Linked DNA regions of Homo sapiens: region 2 is linked to region 1. Evidence: promoter capture Hi-C in 16 types of primary human blood cells and fetal thymus (Javierre and others, 2016). All regions are on one chromosome and are shown on one strand. The core of a region is centred on a gene start or on the middle of the fragment in contact, and the rest is flanking DNA. Distances in the headings are between cores, read along the strand shown.

The links. Contacts are between HindIII fragments. The CHiCAGO score rates a contact against its expected background, and 5 or more counts as called.
Region 2: a contact is called between a fragment that was not itself captured here and the fragment with the promoter of DAP in region 1, in 1 of 17 cell types (M1 macrophages). The highest score is 7.0, in M1 macrophages.

Annotation. Positions count from the first base shown.
Region 1 is chr5:10,759,641-10,763,126 of GRCh38, forward strand. It overlaps DAP (death associated protein), which reads right to left and starts at 1,594. Exons shown (of 4, transcript NM_004394.3): 1 at 1,374-1,594. The coding sequence starts at 1,428. It overlaps DAP-DT (DAP divergent transcript), which reads left to right and starts at 1,396. Exons shown (of 3, transcript NR_187555.1): 1 at 1,396-1,576. RefSeq lists silencers at 1,150-1,579, 1,660-2,129 and an enhancer at 1,652-2,497. The HindIII fragment of the contact is 9,246 bases long and covers 1-3,486 here.
Region 2 is chr5:11,184,482-11,187,967 of GRCh38, forward strand. The region is part of intron 11 of CTNND2 (catenin delta 2); the gene reads right to left. Among named protein-coding and RNA genes, the nearest start is that of CTD-2154B17.1, 400 kb to the left of the region's middle. The HindIII fragment of the contact is 1,509 bases long and covers 1,176-2,684 here.

The sequences.
Region 1 (3,486 bases), core at 344-2,843:
TACTCTGGACTGCAACATATTTAAAGAACGGCTCCTATTCATTGTGCTGGTGCAGAGAATTCCCGCCCTATAGCGGAGGACAGCAGAGAAGGATAATGGGAATCTTTTTTTTTTTTTTTTTTTTTTTTGAGATGGAGTCTCGCTCGCTTTGTCGCCAAGGCTGGAGTGCTTTGGCTCAATCTTGGCTCACTACAACTTCTGCCTCCCGGGTTCAAGCCATTCTCCTGCCTCGGCCTCCTGAATAGCTGGGATTACAGGCGCCCGCCACCATGCCCAGCTAATTTTTCTACTTTTAGTAGAGATGGGGTTTCACCATGTTATCCAGGCTAGTCTTGAACTCCTGACCTCAAGTGATCCACCCTCCTTGGCCTCCCAAACTGCTGGGGTTACAGGCATGAGCCACCGCGCCTGGCCAGGAATCTTTATTGTCAAGAAAATGGCGCAAATGTGCCACCAAAAGAAGCCATGTTTCTCAAAGACTTCTGTTCCTACAAGACTGAGTTTATGACACTAAGGCGTGCTATTAAGACCTAAAAGAACCTCACGCATCCATACATTGAAGTGACTTGGCTTCTGAGACCCAAGGCCTTTGATCTTCTCACCAGTGTCCCTCCATATGGGCCGACTGCCACTGGAAAGGAGAGTAGAAACGGAAACAGACCCGTCTGGACAGAATCCAAAGTGCAAACAGGAACTGTGCCCAGAGAGAGGAGGAGGTGGCAGAAGCATGAAGGCTGCTTAGATCCCTATGTTCTAAGAAAGACCGCTCTTTCCTGGCTTTAACTTCCTTGGCTCAGAAGTTTAGGATTTGCTCAAAATCAGAAAAAGCAACTTTGGGGGAAAAAAAAAATCTGGATGTGGAAGAAACTGGCGGTGAAAGTCATATTGAGTGATTAATGATAAAAATTATTTCCGCTCCTTGGTTCTTGAGTCGGTATGAAACGCTGGCAGCCTCTAATTAATCATCACCATGATATTAACACCACTGACTTTTCATTGCTTCTGCTACTTTCTTTCTAGACATCTGTATCCTCTAAGTAAATATTATCCGCCAAAACTTTGTTATAAGTTGTGCAACTGGGTTCGCCCAAGGCACCGGAGCCTGCGCGCAATCGCACAGGTACGCGGCCGCCCGCGGTCCTCAGGAAGAAACGCTTCGCCGCCGCCGGCAAGCGGGGCCGAAGCTCCGGCGGGCTCCTCCCGGGCCTGGGCGCCCGACCTCTCCGCGGCCCGCGCCCCTCGGGCGGGCATCAAGGCCCGGAACCCGTCTCAGCGCTCGCCGGGGCCCTCCCCGCGGAGCCCCCGCCCGGCGCCCCCGGGTTCGAGCCCGCCCCCGGCACCCGCGCGTGGAGAGAGAGGAAAAGAGTCAGTACCGGCGGGCGGGTGTCCAGCTTTAGTCTCTAGTTTCCCTTCGGGAGGCGAAGACATGACGCGGCGGGGCTTCCGCGGGGCCGAGGCGGCGGCGCGGTTCTCGGGCCGGGCGGGCGTGCGCGAGTGAGCTCAGGTGTGAGCGCCGGGGAGCGAGCGGGCGGGAGAACGACGCGCGCGCGTGGGGCGCCGGGGCCGCGCGAGCCGGGTGAGTGCCACTGCCGTTAAGGGGGCGCGGCCGCCGCGCGCCGACGTGGCGCAGCCGAGCCCACCGACGGCATGCGCACTGACGTCACCGCGGCCCGCCCGCCCTGCTGGGCCGCGAGCCAAGCATACGGTGCGTGCGCAGCCGGCCGCGCCACGTCGGATGCTGTGGCCGGGGGCGGGGGCGGGGGCGGGGGCGGGGGCGGAGGAGGGAGGGGAGAGAAGGGGTGAAGAAGTGAGAGGGAGAAGGAAGGAGAGGGAGGCGGGGTCCCCGACTGGCTGCGGGGACTGGAGTTGCGGAAAGTTAAGTAGGGCCCAGCTGAGGATGGCTCCTGCAGCGAACGCGCTCAGCCGGGCTCCTGGCTACGCGGCGACGGCTGGGTGACTGCGCCCCACAGTGCGGGCCAGGGCCGGGGCGTCCCGGCAGGGAGGCGACCGTCCCCTGAGGCCCTCAGCCCCTGCCGCGGCAGCGCCTAATGAAGCGCGGAAAGGAGAGCCCAGATGGCAGCGACGGGGGCCGAGAGAGCAGGAATTTGTTAAAAGACGATGCGAGGGGAGAGCCTGCTTTCCGAGTGAGGGCCAGCGCTGGGGAGCAGAGACGGTGGCTTCTGTCCCTGCCCTCCTCGTTATGAACCAAAAATAAAATTCTAAGCCCTGCAGCCAACGGATGGACCCTCCCCTCCGCCTGTGGCCTTCTAAGTTATCTTGAAAAACTAGTTCAGGCCTTGATGGGAAGCGGAAGTCAAACATGGCCTCACAAACATCCGCACGGAGACCCTAAGACTAATAGAGGACTCTGATAAGAAACATTTGCAGTGTATTCCCGGCTTCATCTGCATGATAACACCTTGGTCTCCACAACTCCTTCATGCAACCCGGACATTCCCTTCTACTGAGTCCAGGTCTTTAGATGATAACTCTCAACCAGTTGCCAATCAGAAAACCTTTAAATGTACCTATGACCCGGACGCCTCCACTTCACATTTTACCTCCTAAAGAGCCAACCTACATCTTACGTATTGATTGATGTCTCATGTCTCCCTCAAATGTATAAAACCAAGATGTTTCCTGGCCACCCTGGGCACATGTCATCAGAACCTCCTGAGGTTGTGTCAATGCACGTCCTTAACCTTGGCAAAATAAACTTCCTAAATTGAGACCACTCTCAGAAACTTTTGGTTTTCACCATCATCTTCCTGTTGCCGTGGCTGACCCCTGGCTCTCGTGCCTTGGATCGTGTTCTTCCCGCCTGCCCCAGTGTTTTGCAACTGCTGTTAACTTCCGCAATGCCTTGCTGGATTCGCATTCAGACAGGCCTAATCTCTTTAGCGAAGGAAACACCACCCCTCGCTTGGCTGTACTTTTCCCTTTGACAACAAAACTGTTCAGGGAGGCTGAGCTCCTCATCTCTTGTCACTCCCTCCAGTCCAGTTTGTCTGGTTTTCATCAAGTTCTGCTGCACTGCCCTCAACCATGGGAGGTCCTTTTGTGGAAGTCACTTATAACCTATGTGCTGCCAGATCCAATGGTCATTTTCTACTTTCATTCTATTTGAGCTCTTAGCAGCACTTGATGCAGCTGGCCGTCCCCCTCCTCCTTTGCTCCGGAGGTGCCACATCACTGCCTTACCCTCCAGTTCTCTGGCCACCCTGGCTGCTCACTCTGTCAGCTTGGCAGTTCGCCCTCTTCTAGATTTATAAACATTTGAGTATCGCAAGGCTCAGCATTGGCCTTCTTCTCTATCTAGACTTCCCATAGATAGTCACATGCAGCCTGTGGACGACTATCATGCAGATGCTTACAGGTGCCAAATCTGCAACCTCATTTCTCTATTTCTGCTCCTCCCCTGAACTCCAGACTCACCACCACCACCACCTGCAGACGCTTATGGGTGCCACATCTGCAACTTAATTT
Region 2 (3,486 bases), core at 680-3,179, 430 kb after region 1:
GTAGGGCAAGCAGCTCTTTTAACTAATATGTATCATAATTTTAAGTGCTAACTGTGTTTGCTATAGACTGCTGTACTTGAAGTACTGAATGCTTTTATGCTCAAGGTTCCATGGTTTTTAAATTGCCTGAAAATATGTCCTAACTTTTAAGTTGGCCGACTGTCATTTGCATAGTAGATTAATCCTTGTTCACTATTGTGAATTAATAGTCTGTGGAATTATTTTGTCTCATCAACGAGGACACAGCTGACTCTGGGTGTGTCCCTAGCAATTTTTGTGTGAAGTGAATCAAGTTATGTAGAAACTTATCAAGCACGTTCCTCATTATTCCTTCCACCCAAAGGCCCTTAACTTCTAGAAGAATTGTAGATTAAAAGGCAAATATGGATGGAAGGAGAAGACCAGACTGTTTGAACCCGCAGCACTCGGACTCAATGCAAGGAGAGTGGCAAGCAGATATGCAGAAGGAAGCTGCTTTGCGCAGGAGTGCTTGTGCCTTAGTCTGAGCAGGTGTGCAAGAACACACATGCCCACCCCTGCATGCACACGGATGACTCAGTTCTCAATCCATTCTTATTAAAGAAGCATGCAAAGAGAGTTTGCCCCTGTAACCTTCGTGGCCCATGTTTTATTCTCCTGCTCCCATTACCTGCACGCCAAACCCATATGCATCTTTAAAACCCATTTCAAATGTTGCTTTCTTCATAAAGTCTTCCTTGATCTCTTCAACTGAAGTTTCTCTTTCCTCCTCTAAGCTCCTCTGGCCCTCTCTCCATGCTTTTCTTATAGAACAGTTCTCTATCTCCCTCTCCCTAACTCAGTGGACTGCTCCTGGAGAACAGAGCTCACATCTACATCATTTCCATATGCTCTTGTCTACCCTGACTGAGCAACCTTGTAGTGCTGCTCAGGCATCTATTGTGAACTGGAGAAGAAAGAAGGAAGACAAGAAGGTCACCTTCTAAGCAGTCCCATTTCCTGACTTCTCTGGGATTACAGGCCTCATGATACAGGCTCCTATTTTAGGAAACCACTTCACAGAGATTCTTCTTCTGGGCATTCCCTGGGGATGGCACACAGTTGATGTACACAGCTGCCATGATGGCAACGACAACAGCCGTCATGATGGAAGAGCGAGTTGCTAAGTGAAAAGAGTTTTGCATGTGCAAAACTGAAGCTTCTCCTCCTCTAGGCTGAGTTTCATCCTCTAACGGATAACCAAAAAGGAAGTTTATTTCAAACGTTTCATCAGGAATGACAAACAAAAACATCTGTTGGAAAGGAAACCAGGTGTTGGGCAAGGGATGTAGACGTTATATAATTTGGTGTTCTCCTCCAGGATCCAGTGGGGATTGCTATGTTGTGTTCGTTAACACTAGTTAATGTAATTTTTGTGATAATTGTAGAGCAAATAGAGCAAACTCTCAAATATAATTAGGGAAAAGTGTTTCTAATTAACTTGTAACTCGTGAGTTGCAAAGTAAAGCCACAAATCAGTTATGCATTGTCAGACCTAACAAATGGAAATGCGCTGTACATTTCAATCTCGGCAAATACAAAACAAAGCACAAAGACCCAGAAAAACTTTCCTTTAAGCCTTTATACAATTTTGGCATGCTCTGAAATGTAATTAGAGATAAGCACAGATACATCTCACGTCACCAGCCCTAATGATCACGGAGGTGAAAACTGAAGGCAACTTCAGACGGTTCAAGAACATCCAACATTTTACTGCTGCAGAATGTAAAATGGATCATGCTCACAAAACACTCTCTGATCGGTGTACAGAAGGTTCTGATGAAACTTCACAAGGTTTCATAGGGAAGTAAAGGACTATAATATATGCAAGCTCCACCCCAGTTAACACTGCCATCAGTAACAGTTGCTTACTGCTGGCTGTAAGTCAGAGGGGGATACAGGAAATTTCTTCTATATCCAGTGGAAGCGATTCCACTTATTTTCTCTCTCACTTGAGGAAGCACACTGTAATATGAGGTAACCTCAAATTCATTCTAATTTGAAAAAAGTGATAAACGGGCCATATATTTTCATTGGATAGTGTAGTTACCATTAGCGTCAAATTATTTTGGCGTCTCTCAAAACACATCCATGTCTCCTAATCCTCCACCCCTCTGCAGTCCACTGTAATTGTTGGTCCTGTTAAAGTAGAAAGTGGTGTTTCTCAAACATGCATGATCCTAAGAACCTCGAGAGGGTATTGCTAAATGTGTGGATTCCCAAGCTATTATCGTGAAAATCTAGGGTCCAGAAATATGTATTGTTTTATCAAGTGCCTCCAAAGAAACTCTTATGATTGGAGAAACTGGAAAATCACTGGTGTAAAGCAGACTGGCTTTGGAAATCAAGGACTACACTAGTACCACAGACCAGCTGTGACTTTAAGCATGCCCCTTACATCCAACCTCACAGGACCTCAGGAGTATTCAAGGCAATGATAGACTGGACGGTACGTAGCACTATGACCGGTAAGTGTGGGTGTTCGTAAATGTATGCTTATCTCTTCTTGGTCCACAAGAAAGAAATGCAGAGAATACCTGGATTCTCAGGTTAGGCACATTGGACAACAATAAGAATGTAAAACACAGGAAATAATGTGACATATTGGCTCTAGAGGCATCTGCAAAGTCCTACTCTGTGACAAAGGTAATAAAGAAGGGGTATTAAGCTTGACTTACCCATATATAAATGTTAGCAGTCTAATCTTACCATAGCACAACTAACTACAACTCCCTTAAAAAGACTGTTTATGAGAAACAGAGACAAATGGGACAGAATAGAGAACTCAGAAAGAAGACTGCACATCTACAACCATCTGATCTTTGACAAACCTAACAAAAACAAGCAACAGGGAAAGGACTCCCTATTTAATAAATGGTGCTGGGAGAACTGGCTAGACATATGCAGAAAATTGAAACTGGACCGCTTCCTTACACCTTACACAAAAATTAACTCAGGATGGATTAAAGACTTAAATGTAAAACCCAAAACTATAAAAAACCCTAGAAGAAAACCTAGGCAATACCATTCAGGACATAGGCACGGGTAAAGATTTCATGACGAATACATCAAAAGCAATTGCCACAAAAGCAAAAATTGACAAATGGGATCTAATTAAGCTAAAGAGCTTCTGCACAGCAAAAGAAACTATCATCAGAGTGAACAGGCAACCTACAGAATGGGAGAAAATTTTTGCAGTCTATCTATCTGCAAAGGTCTAGTATCCAGAGTTTACAAAAATACTTAAACACATTTATAAGAAAAAAACCAACCCCATTAAAAAGTGGGCAAAGTACATGAACAGACACTTCTCAAAAGAAGACATTCATGCAGCCAACAAACCTATGAAAAAAGCTCAACATCACTGATCACTAGAGAAATGCACATCAAAACCACAATGAGACACCTTCTCATACCAGTTAGAATGGTGATTATTAAAAAGTCAAGAAACAACAGATGCTGGCGAGG